2 separate regions of the Homo sapiens genome follow, and region 1 is linked to region 2. Evidence: promoter capture Hi-C in human tissues and cell types (Jung and others, 2019). All regions are on one chromosome and are shown on one strand. Each heading gives the region's core, a stretch centred on a gene start or on the middle of the fragment in contact. The rest is flanking DNA. Distances are from core to core; before and after follow the strand shown.

What was found. The method cuts DNA at HindIII sites, captures the fragments that hold promoters and counts their contacts. A contact is called where the count stands out against the background at its distance.
Region 1: a contact is called between the fragment with the promoter of ZNF799 here and the fragment with the promoter of ZNF441 in region 2, in 2 of the 25 tissues and cell types used here (hippocampus and mesenchymal stem cells).

The regions. Positions count from the first base shown.
Region 1 is chr19:12,399,468-12,405,528 of GRCh38, forward strand. It overlaps ZNF799 (zinc finger protein 799), which reads right to left and starts at 1,804. Exons shown (of 4, transcript NM_001080821.3): 1 at 1,601-1,804. The coding sequence starts at 1,603. RefSeq lists enhancers at 1,099-1,188, 1,909-1,958 and a silencer at 1,419-1,578. The HindIII fragment of the contact is 18,323 bases long and covers 1-6,061 here.
Region 2 is chr19:11,764,457-11,770,875 of GRCh38, forward strand. It overlaps ZNF441 (zinc finger protein 441), which reads left to right and starts at 2,544. Exons shown (of 4, transcript NM_152355.3): 1 at 2,544-2,740. The coding sequence starts at 2,738. RefSeq lists an enhancer at 2,705-2,804 and silencers at 2,875-3,014, 3,465-3,574. The HindIII fragment of the contact is 15,674 bases long and covers 1-6,419 here.

The sequences.
Region 1 (6,061 bases), core at 554-3,053, 630 kb after region 2:
TGTCCCAGGAGTTAGCTTTTTACAGGAATTATATACCAGAAGATTCCTCCCATCCCAGTGGATCCAGTTGCTCCCCAGGGGGCCACACCCCCCATCTCAGGCTGTCCCCTGGGAGGAGTGACCCAGGGGATGATATTCACTAGACCCTCCAAGAGACTTGGCAGCTGTGGACACCCTTTTTTTTTTTTTTTTTTGAGACAGGGTCGGCCTCTGTTGCCTAGGCTGGGATGCAGAGGCACGATCATAGCTCACTGCAACTTCAAACTCCTGGGCTCCAGCCATCATCCCACCTCAGCCTCAGGAGTAGCTGCGACTACAGGTGCCAGCTACCAAGCCCAGCTAATTTTATTATTATCATTTATACTAGAGACAAGGTCTTGCCATGTTGCCCAGGCTGGTCTGGAACTACTAAGATTAAGCAATACCTCTGCCTTAGCCTCCCAAGGTGCTGGAATTACAGGAATGACCCACCGTGTTCAGGAACCCAAAATAATTCTTTCAAGAAAAAGCCATACATTGCTAGCTGAAAACAAGATGACAAACTAGTGAAATATCGCCTGGGGGCCAAACAGTTCATACCGTTGCTGTGAATTAAGGACAGAAGGTTAGCCTGGGGAAGTCTCTGGAAACCAAGAGATTTGCTGCCAGCCCTAGGAGGAGTCAGGATGAGAGAACACAGTGGTGGATTTGAGACCCTGCTAACCACATCTTTGGAAGACTCAGAGGGGAAACGGTCGCCCTTGGAAAGAAAGAAGGGACTGAGGACCACGGAGACCACAGCTCCTCCCACACACAAACCCCACACACGAGTCTGGATTCCACCTGGTGACTCGTCGTCACCGTGCAGCCTCCTCACCGGGTTCACAGGAACTGCGAGCCAGGCTGGAGGCGAGATTGCAGTTAGATATTAACCAGGTGCCCTCAGCCCCGCTGCCTCAAGGGGCCGCCTCCCTGAGAGTCAGGTCACAGCAGACGCTGACCGCCGGCTTCCCCATTGTGCCTGGGGATAAGATCTCTGAGAACTGCTCAAGAGTCGCCGGAGTTCTCAGATCCTGAATCCCAGCAAAGGCTGGCGCCAATCAGGTTGAAGTCCCAACGAGGGAGCCCATTCAGCAGAATGCGGTTTCTTCACCTCCTGTCCCAGGATTCACCCCTCACTTCCCCACCAACCAACGACCCTACACCCAGCCGCCCCCGTCCAGACCCCAAATCCCTCAGGGAGGCGGATCTGGGGTGTCCTCCCCTCTCTGGCTATTAAACTGTTTCTGCTGCAGCCCTCAGCGTCTCGGTGCAGTGAGTCGGGCCGCGAACCTGTGTTGCTTACAGCCGCACAATCTCGGGAGACGCGAGGCTGCGGGCGCGGAGCTGCCCAGAGAGGGCGCCGGGGCCGCAGTCGCCGCGCAGGAACGGGACAGGACGCCCGGGGTCCCGGCTGCATGCCCAGCCCCACCCTGCGGCCGAGGGCCGACCTACGCCAGGGGAACCCGGGTCCGTAGATCCCGGAGTAGCCCTTGGGGAGGCCCGGGTCCAGCCACAGCCGATTACTGCAGGTTCCACCCAGCCCCTCCCCCGCCTCGGGACGCCGGCCCAGCACACGCACCATTTCCCGACTTCCGCGGTGTCCCAGGTCCTCCGGACGGCTCCCGCTGCCAATGCGGGTTCCCGCGGGACACAGGCTGCCACGGAACTTCCAGGTCGTCTCTTAGCTACAGAGCCGAGCACCGAGCGCCCAGCGCAGGTGGGTGGAGAAGACGCCGCGGGCTTTTTCAACCACACACTCCTCTGGGAAGCGCGCCTGATTGACAGTTCCCACGAACCCGCCCCACGGCCCTTACTGGATACGGCGTCAGGTGCCGCCCCTCGTGGACTGATTGACAGAAGAAGCGATCTTGCACAGCTGAGTGGAGCCAGATGAGCAAGTTCCTGACACAGCCCTTGGCAGGGCGGGCTTCCTCCCTGCTCTTTGATCTGAATCCTCCCGAGGGATATTTGCACTTAAGCGGAATTTCCTGCCTGTACTCAATAGGACCTCCTGCTTCTTCCTCCTGTACACTGACTGACAAAACAATTATACTTTTTTTTTTTTTTTTTTTTTTTTTTCCGAGAGAGAGAGAGAGAGAGAGAGAGAGAGAGGGAGTCTTGCTCCGTGGCTCAGGCTAGAGTGCAATGGTGCGAGGCTCACTGCGACCTCCGCCTCCTAGGTGGGTTCAAACAATTCTGCCTCAGCCTCCCGAGTAGCTGGGATTACAGGTGCGCGCCACCACACCCGGCTAATTTTTGTATGTTTTAGTAGAGGCCGGGTTTCACCATGTTGGCCAGGCTGGTCTCGAACTCCTGACCTCGTGATCCGCCCACCTTGGCCTCCCAAAGTTCTGGGATTAGAGACGTGAGCCATCGCGCCTGGCTCCAATTATACTCTTTTTCAATGAAATTTTTCAAAATATTTCAATGTACAATTAAATTATTTTTTACTATAGTCACTCTGTTGTGCTAGCAAATACTAGGTCTTATTCATTCTTTGTAACTATTTTTTATACCTATTAACCATCCCCACTTCCCCCATAACTACTCCTCGCTACTACTTTTCCCAGCCTGTGGTAACCATCCTTCTACACGTTTTTGGTTGTTTGAGATGGGGTCTTGCTCTGTTGCCTAGGCTGGAGTGCAGTGGGGCCATCATGGCTCACTGCAACCTCTACCTCCCAAGCTCAAGCAATCCTCCCACCTCAGCCTCTCAAGTAGCTTCAGATTGTTCACTGTTGGCATATAAAAATGTTACTGATTTTTGTATGTTAATATTGTATCCTGCAACTTTACTGAATTTATTTCTCAGTTCTAATACTTTTTTGGTGGAGTCTTTAGGTATTTCCAGATATAAGATCATATTATATGCAAACCAGGATAATTTGACTTCTTCCTTTCCTTCCCAATATAGATGCCCTTTATTTCTTTTTTTTTTTTTTTTTGGACTTATTGCTCTAGCTGGGACTTCGAGTACTGTGCTGAACAACAGTGGTAAAAGTGGGCATTCTTATTGTGTTCCAGATCTTACAGGAAAGGCTTTCAGTTTTTCCTCATTCATTATCATGCTAGCTGTGGGTCTGCCATATATGGCTTTTATTATGTTAAGGTAGCTGCTTCTATACCCAGTTTTTTTTTAGGGTTTTTATCATGAAGGGATGTTAAATATTATCAAAAGCTTTTTCAGTGCACATTGAAATGATTATATGGTGTTTGCCCTTTATTCTGTTGAAATGATACATCACATTGATTGATTTGCATATATTGAACCATCCTTGCATCCCAGGGATAAAGCCCACTTGGTCATGATGAATGATCTTTTTGGTGTATTGTTAAATTCAGTTTGCTAGTATTGAGTTGAGGATTTTTGCATCAATATTCATCAGTGACACTGGCCTATAGTTTTCTTTTTCTGACATGTCTTTGTCTGGTTTTGGTGTCAAAGTAATATTGGCTTTGTAAAATAAGTTTGGAAGTATTGCCTTCTCCTCTGTTTTGGAATAGTTTGAGTAGGATTGGTATTAGTTCTTTTTTAAATGTTAGTAGAATTCAGCAGTGAAGCCACTGGGTTCTGGGGTTTTCTTTGCTAGCAGACTTTTTATTATGGCTTTGATCTCATTATTTGTTATTGGTCTGTTCAGGTTTTTTATTTCTTCATGGTTCAATGTTGCTATGTTCTATCTGCCTAGGAATTTATCAATTTCTTCTAGGTTTTCCAATTTATTGGCATATAGTTGTTCTTAGTTGCATTAATGATCCTTTGAATTTCTGCAGTATCAACTGTAATGTCTCCTTTTTCATCTCTAATTTTATTTATTTGGGCCTTTCTGTTTTTTTCTTAGTCTACCTCAAGGTTTGTCAGTTTTGTTTGTCTTTTCAAAAAACCAACTTTTTGTTTCATTGTTCTTTTCTATTGTTTCTTCATTTCAAATTCATTTATTTCTACTCTGATTTTTATTATTTCTTTTCTACTAATTTTGGGTTTGGTTTGCTCTTGCTTTTCTAATTCTTTAAAATGCATTCTTAGGTTGTTTATTTGAAGGTTTTCTTCTTCTTCTTCTTCTTCTTTTTTTTTTTGATGTGAGTTTTACTTCACTCTTGCAGCCTAGGCTGGAGTGCAATGGCGCAATCTCAGCTCACTGCCACCTCTGCCTCCTGGGTTCAAGCAATTCTCCTGCCTCAGCCTCCCAGGTAGCTGAGATTACAGGCACCCACCACCATGTCTGGTTAATTTTTTGTATTTTTAGTAGACAGGGTTCCACCATGTTGGCCAGGCTGGTCTTGAACTCCTAAGCTCAGGTGATCCACTCACCTCGGCCTCCCAAAGTGCTGGGATTACAGGTGGGAGCCACCGCACCCAGCCTGCAGGTCTTCTTCTTTTTTGATGTAGGTGCTTATATCTATAAACTTCCCTCTTAGTACTGCTTTTGCTGTATTCCATAGGTTTTGGTATGTTGCATTTTCATTATCATTTGTTTCAAGCAACTTTACAATTTCCTTCTTAATTTCTCCACTGACCAATTGGTCATTCAGAAGCAGATTATTTAATTTCCATATGTTTGTATGGTTTCCAGAATTCCTCTTGTCATTGATTTCTAGTTTATTCCATGTATTCTATGACACAATTTAAATTATTTCAATTTTTTTGGAGAGTTTTAAGACATGCTTTTTGAACTAACATATGGTCTATCCTTGAGAATGATGCATGTGCTCGGGAAAAATATGTGTATTCTGTAGCTGTTGGATAAAATGTTCTGTAAATATCTATTAGATCCATTTGATCTATAGTGTAGATTAAATCCCATTTAATCTTTCTTTTGTCTGATTTTTCAGTATATATTGAGATAATCTTTGTCGATTTACTGTCTGGAAGATCTGTCCTGTGCTGAAAACGGGGTGTTAAAATCTCCAGCTATTATTGTATTGGTCTCTCTCTCTTTTATTTTTATTTTTATTTTTTTTTGAGACAGAGTTTCACTCTTGTTGCCCACGCTGGAGCGCAATGTTGCAATCTTGGCTTACTGTAGCCTCCTCCACCTCCCAGGTTCAAGCAGTTCTCCTGCCTGCTGGGATTACAGGCGTGAGCCACCATGCCCGGCCCTCAGTGCCAGTCTTAAAGACAGCAGCCCGAGATCCCAGTATAAAATCCTACTCACTCAATTATCACCTTTGTATTTTCGAATTGGTATGGGGACTTTCCAAAGGTCTGAAACAAGGCTCTCTGTTCTATATCATCTACAATAACTCAGTCCCTGTCAAATTTGGCAGGAATTGCCTAAAAATGTTGTAAAATACATCAAAAGCCTGCAACCACCTGGTAAAACGGATTATGATTATGACATACCATCTCTGATGGTTAATACTGAGTGTCAACTTGATTGGATTGAAGGATACAAAGTATTGATCCTGGGTGCCTCTGTGAGGGTGCTGCCAAAAGAGATTAACATTTGAGTCCCTGGGCTGGGGAAGACAGATCCACCATTAATCTGGTGGGCACAATCTAATCAGCTGCCAGCGAATATAAAGCAGGCAGAAAAACATGAAAAGGAGAGACTGGCCTAGCCTCCCAGCCTACATCTTTCTCCCATGCTGGATGCTTCCTGCCCTCGAACATCAGACTCCAAGTTCTTCAGTTTTGGGGCTTGGACTGGCTCTCCTTGCTCCTCAGTTTGCAGACAGCCTATTGTGGGACCTTGTGATTGTCTAAGTTAATATTTAATAAACTCCCATTTATATATATATATATATCCTATTAGTTCTGTCCCTCCAGAGAACCCTGACTAATACACCATCTAAATCCTGGGGGAAAAAAGTTGGAGAGAAAATTTCCTCTAGTAAACTAGGGTACTCAAAAGCACTCAGGTATACTGGGGAATTGAGAAAGCCCCATGCATGCACAGGAAAGAACACATTTTCACAAAACACATGATAAAACCCTAATTTTCAGCTCTGGCTGATCCCTAGGTTTAATTAAACAGAAAATAAATGCTAAAGTAGGATTTTAAACAGCCTGACTGTGTTTTCAAGGAATGCCCCAGTA
Region 2 (6,419 bases), core at 1,294-3,793:
TGAAGGTGAGCAGCATTATTTCTAGGCTCTCTATTCTGTTCCATTGGTAATGTGTCAGTTTTTGTAAAAATACCTTACTGTAGCCCTGTAGTATATAGTTTGAAGTCTGGTAGCATGATGCCTCCAGCTTTGTTCTTTTTGCTTAGGATTGCCTTGACTATTTGGGACTTTTTAAGTTATTTTTTTCCAAGAACTAAGTCTTGCATTTGCTAATCTTTTGTATGTTTTTTTTTTTTTTTGTATCTCAATTTCCTTCAGTTTAGCTCTGATTTTGGTCATTTTAGCTCTGATTTTGGTCATTTCTTGTCTTCTGCTAGCTTTGGGATTGGTTTGCTCTTGCTTCTCTAGTTCTTCTAGTTGTGATATTGGGTTATTAATTTCAGATCTTTCTTTTTGATTTGGGCAGTTAGTGCTATAAATTTCCATCTTAACACTTCTTTAGCTGTGCCCCAGAGATTCTGGTATGTTGTATCTTTCTTCTCAGTTTCCAAGAATTTCTTGATTTTGGTGTTAATTTCATTATTTACTCAGAAGTCATTCTGAACCAGGTCATTTAATTTTGATATAATTGTATGGTTTGGGGAGATTTTCTTAGTCTTGATTTCTATTTTTATTGCACTGTGGTCTGAGAGTGCAGTTGGTATGATTTTGTTTGCTTGTTTTTTTAATTTGCTGAGGGTTATTTTATGTCTGATTATGTTACTGATTTTAGAGTATGTGCCATGTGGTGAGGAGAAGAATGTATAATCTGTTGGTTTTGGGTGGAAAGTTCTGTAGATGTCATATCCATTTGGTCAGGTGTTGGTGGAAGGCTAAGGAGGAGCAAAGGCAAATGTTACATGGCGGCAGGCAAGAGAGCATGTACAGGGAAACTGCCCTTTATAAAGCCATCAGATTTCATGAGACTTATTCACTATCACGAGAACAGCATGGGAAAACCGCCTCCATGATTCAATTACCTCCCACTGGATCACTCCCATGACATGTGGGGATTATGGGAGCTGCAATTCAAAATGAGATTTGGGTGAGTAAGTCTCATGAGATCCGATGGCTTTATAAAGGGCAGTTCCCCTGCACACGCTCTCTTGCCTGCCGCCATGTAACATTTGCTTTTGCTCCTCCTTTGCCTTCCACCATGATTGTGAGGCCTCCCCAGCCATGCTGAACTGTGAGTCAATTAAACCTCTTTTTCTTCGTATCACCATGGGTGCCAGCTCCCAGTTAATAACGCTTTTTTTTTGTTTGTTTTTAAATAGAGATGGGGGTTTCACCACATTGCCCAGGCCGGTCTTGAGCTCCTGAGCTCAAGCAATCCACCCACCTCAGCCTCCCAAAGTGGTGGGATTGCAGGCATGAGCCACGGTGCCTGGCCTCATAATGCTTTTATATCTGGTATTCTTCATAAAAATATGAAGATGAATGTTTTCAAATTCAAAGTCTAATGTCTCAGCCTTTGATTGAAGCATTTAATTCAATAACATTTATAGGCTTGATGGAAGGAGCATTTCCACGCTGTGTTTAGGAGACAGGAGGGCAAATTGAACTCCCAGAGTTAAATCCATTAGTGCCCCTGACTCATCCCCAGGTTCTGATCCACCCTAGGGCTCCATTTCAGGAATTATCGTCTGGCCTCCAAGCTTTGGAATATGTTTGGCCTCCTGAAAGTGGTTGACTTGTGAACTGTGTGTGGATGCAGCAGGCTGCTTATCTGAGCTAGTTCAAGTTTTTGCTTTATAAAATATTGCCGCCATATAATTCCAGTTTTTCCACACATTTAACAATTTTATTTATTTCTTTTTTCTTTTTTCTTTTTTTTTTTTTTTGAGACGGAGTCTCCCTCTGTCTCGCCCACTCTCTCACTGCAGCCTCTGCCTTCCAGGTTCAAGTGATTCCTCTGTCTCAGCCTCCTGAGTAGCTGGGACTACAGGCGTGCGCCACCACATCCGGCTAATCTTTGTATTTTAGAGACGGGATTTCACCATGTTGGCCAGACTGGTCTCGAATTTCTGACCTCAGGTGATCCACCTGCCTCAGCCTCCCAAAGTGCTGGGATTACAGGTGTGAGCCACCACGCCCGGCTTTGTTGGGGTGTTTTTATATTCTGCACTGAAAATTAGTAGATTGAGACATAAGGTGGGAGAAAGGCTTGGCCTGTGCAGCCAACAGCCTCATCCAAAACTCCTGATTCCTGGAGGACATCAGCCCCTCCCTTCTGCTGCAGTGTGGCCTGGGCTCCCTTCCTGCTCTCAAATCAGGGGATAGCTCCACTGGACAGTGAGTCTGGAATTTCCTGCACAGACTTGTGGGTCCCTGTCCAAGAGGAAAAAGGAGGAAGGTCAGGACATACTGCCTAAATGCAAATGTCCCCTGGGAGGGGGTCAGGTCACAGCGCAGGGAGGAAGCTAGTCCTCTCAAGGCCTGTCTGGAATCTGTTTATCAGGTTCCACTCCGCTGCCCGAGATCGCTTCTTCCGTTACTCAGTGCCCGGGGGAGGGACCTGGCGCACTATCCAATCAGGGCCGCGGGGCGGGGTCGTGAGAACTGTCAATCAGGCGCACTGACCGGAGGAGGGTGCAAGGTTCAAAGAGCCCGCCGAGTCTTCTCCACGCCCCTGCACTGGGCTCCGGGTTCTGTCACTGAGAGACGCCCTGGAACGTCTGTGGCAGCTTCTGTCTCGCTGGGACCCGCACTGACAGCGGGAGGCAGAGGGAGGAACCTGGACGCCGGAAGCCGGGAAATGGTGAGTGTGTGAGGTCTGGTGTCCCGACGCGTGAGAGGAGAGACTGGTTGGAACCGGCCGGAACCGGCTGTGGTGGCACCAGGTCTTCCCCGCCGGCGACACCCTGGCGCAGCTCGGCCCTCGGTTCCCTCGGCCGCACGATGGGGCTGGGGCGGCAGCCGGGACCCCGGGCGTCCTGTCCCGTCCCTGCGCGGCCACTGCGGCCCTGGCCCTGGAGGCCTGTCTGGGCAGCTCCGCGCCCGCAGTCCTGCGTCTCCCCAGATTGTGCGGCTGTAACCGGCACAGGTTCGCGGCCCGAGTCACTGCACCGAGACGCCGAGGGCTGCAGCAGAAACAGTTTAATAGGGGGAGAGGGGAGGACACCCCAGATCCGCCTTCCTGAGAGGTTTGGGGATGGGGTGTTTAGGGGTGTGGACAGGGGCGGCTGGGGCGTGGGGTCGCTGGATGGTGGGGAAGTGAGGGGTGACTCTTGGGACTGGAGGTGAAGAAACCGCATTCTTCTGCTGAGTGGGTTCCCTTGTGGGGTCTTCAGCCTGGTTGGCGCCAGCCTTTCCGCTGGAATTCAGGATCTGAGAAAGAACTCAGGCGACTCTTGAGCAACTCTCAGAGATCTCATCCCCAAGCACAATGGCGAAGCCGGCGGTCAGCATCTGCTGTGGCCTGACTCTTGGGGAGGCGGCCCCGCGAGGCAGCGGGGCTGAGGGCACCTGGTTAATATCTAACTGCAATCTCGCCTCCAGCCTGGCTCGCAGTTCTGTGAACCCGGTGAGGAGGCTGCACGGTGATGACAGGTCACCAGGCAGACTCGTGTGTGGGGTTTGTGTGTGGGAGGAGTTGTGGTCTGTGTGGTCCCCTGTCCCTTCTTTCTTCCCAAGGGTGACCCGTTCGCCTTCGAGTCTTCCAAAGATGTGGGCAGCAGGGTCTCAAGTCCACCACTGTGTTCTCTCATCCTAACTCCTCCTAGGGCCGACAGAAAATCCCTTGGCTTCCAGAGCCTTCCTCAGGCTTTCTCTCCTCAATTCACAGCAACTTTATGAACTCCTTGTCCCCCAGTTTATTTTTCAAACAGAGGCTAGTATTTTAATTGTCATTTTGTTTATACATAGCAATATATGGCTCTTTGTAAAAGGTTTTGTGTTTGTGAACATTTCACATGAGAGGAAGCAGAGAAAAACCACCAGACATTTCGCTGTAAAAAAAATGAATATTAATAAATAAAATCTTTGTTACTGTCCTCCCTTCATCATCCCTAGACAGAGACACCTTTTGAGAATGTCTTTGGATTAAGTTTCCTCTTTGGAAACGTTACAGAGTGATGAGTCCCCAGCCCATCCTCTATGGTTTCCTGGTCCTGGGTTTCAGAGCTGCCTGGGGCCACCCCAAGATGCCCACAGCTGCCAAGTCTCTTGTAGTGTCAAGTGAATATCAGTCCCTTTGTCACTCCTCCCAGAGGACACCCTGAGGTGGAGATGGTGGGACCTTGTAGGGAAGCAGCATGATGCCCTGTAGTGGGAGGAGTCTCCTGGTATACCCTTCCTCAATAAGCTACTTCCTTAGAACACTCAGCTTTTCTTCCCCCATCCCTTCCTTGGGGATATATGGCTGGTCAGCCAATTGGATGGTGGTATTAAGGGGACAGGACTGAAATGATTCTTCCCTTCTGATGTTCTCAGACTAATGAAGGGAGAAAACTATCCCTAAGGACAGGAAAACCAACTCCACTGAGGTGGTGCAAGAACCTGAAAAGCTAACAATGTAGTGTCTCCTGGGATCATGGTTATTGAGCACTTCGGTGAGCAGCATGGTGATGGGGGATGTTCCAGGTGATAGGAGGACCTGACTTGACACACTCTGCACCCATAGGGAGGTGGTGAAAGGAGATGATGGTATAAGGGATGCATATGGATCAACCAAATTGAAGAACTGGGAGAAGATAGAGAACTAGAAACTGTGTCAAGGGTCATAAAACCCCTTTTTTGGTATGGAAAAACGAAACCACACTCAAAATGGAAGCTGAGGTAACAAACTGAGTAAAAATTAATGAAAACTGGAAAGTCTATAGTTAGTTGATCATTGTATATGGAGATGCTGGGCAGAAGATGGATTATTCTCCTGTAGGTAACCATTTGTCTCCATCATTTCTGTTGAAGTGTCCCTCATTTGTATCACTGCCTGGCAATACCTGCTGTGTCATAGGTTCTTGTACCTTAAGTAGATGCTCTTGTTCCAGAATTTGCCATTTTTCATTGGTTTATGTATCCATCAGTCTGCTAATATCATACTCTCCTGATTACTATAGTCTTCAAAGCCTTGATGTGTGGTAGAGAAAGACCCTTCCTAACTTAGTCCTTTGGGTTGCTATAACAAATTTACCATAGACTGCATGCCTTACACAACAGATATTCATTTCTCAAAGCTATAAAGGCTGAGAATTCAGTTTCAAGCAGCAGGTCAGTTGTCTACTAAAGGACTCTTTTTTTTTTTATTTTTTATTTTTGAGATGGAGTCTTGCTCTGTTGCCCAGGCTGGAGAACAGTGGCATGATCTCAGCTCACTGCAACCTCCGCCTCCTGGGTTCAAGTGATTCTCCTGCCTCAGCTTCCCAAGTAGCTGGGACTACAGGCACATGCCACCACCCCAGCTAATTTTTTGTATTTTTAGTAGAGACGGTGTTTCACCATGTTAGCCAAGATGGTCTCGATCTCCTGACCTCATGATCTGCCCACCTCGGCCTCCCAAAGTGCTGGGATTACAGGTGTGAGCCACCGTGCCCAGCCTGGGCCTCTTTCTTGATTTGCAGATGGCATTCTTCCTGTTATGCCCTCACATGGTGGAGATATGTCTGTAATGTCTGTCTAGTTTTGGTGTTAAGGCAGTTGTATTAGTCCATTTTCACACTGCTATAAAGAACTACCAGAAAAGAGGTTTAATTGACTCACAGTTCCTCATGGCTGGGGAGGCCTCAGGAAACTTACAATTGTGGCGGAAGGGGAAGCAGGCACTTCTTACATGGTGGCAGGCAAGACAGCATGTGAAAGAGGAACTGTCAAACACTTATAAAACCGTCAGATTTCATGAGAACCCACTATCACAAGAACAGCGTGGGGGAAACCGCCCCCATGATCCAGTCACCTCCCACAGGTCCTTCCCTTGATACATGGGGATTATGGGGATTACAGTTGAAGATTAGATTTGGGTGGTGACAAAGAGCCAAACCATATTATCAGTGTTGGCCTTACAACATGAATTAGAAAGTGTTCCCTCTGCTTGTATTTTCTGAAAGAGATTATAGAGAATTGGTGTCATTTCTTCCATAAGTGTTTTCCAGAATTCAACAGTGAAACCATGCTGGCCTGTTCCTTTTTCTTGGGACTTTTTGTTTGTTTGTTTGCTTGAAGTGGAGTTTTGCTTTGTTGTCCAGGCTAAAGTGCAGTATCATGATCTCACTGCAACTTCTGCTCCCTGGGATCAAGTGATCCTCCCACCTCAGCCTCCTGAGTGGCTGGAACTCCCACTACAGCCTCCTGAGTGGCTGGATGTGCCACCCCATCCTGCTAATTTTTTGTGTTTTCTGTAGAGATGGGGTTTCACCATGTTGCCGAGGCTGGTCTTGAACTCCTGGGCTCAAGCAGTCTGCTGATCTTGGCCTCCCAAAGTGCTGGGATTACATGTGTGAGCC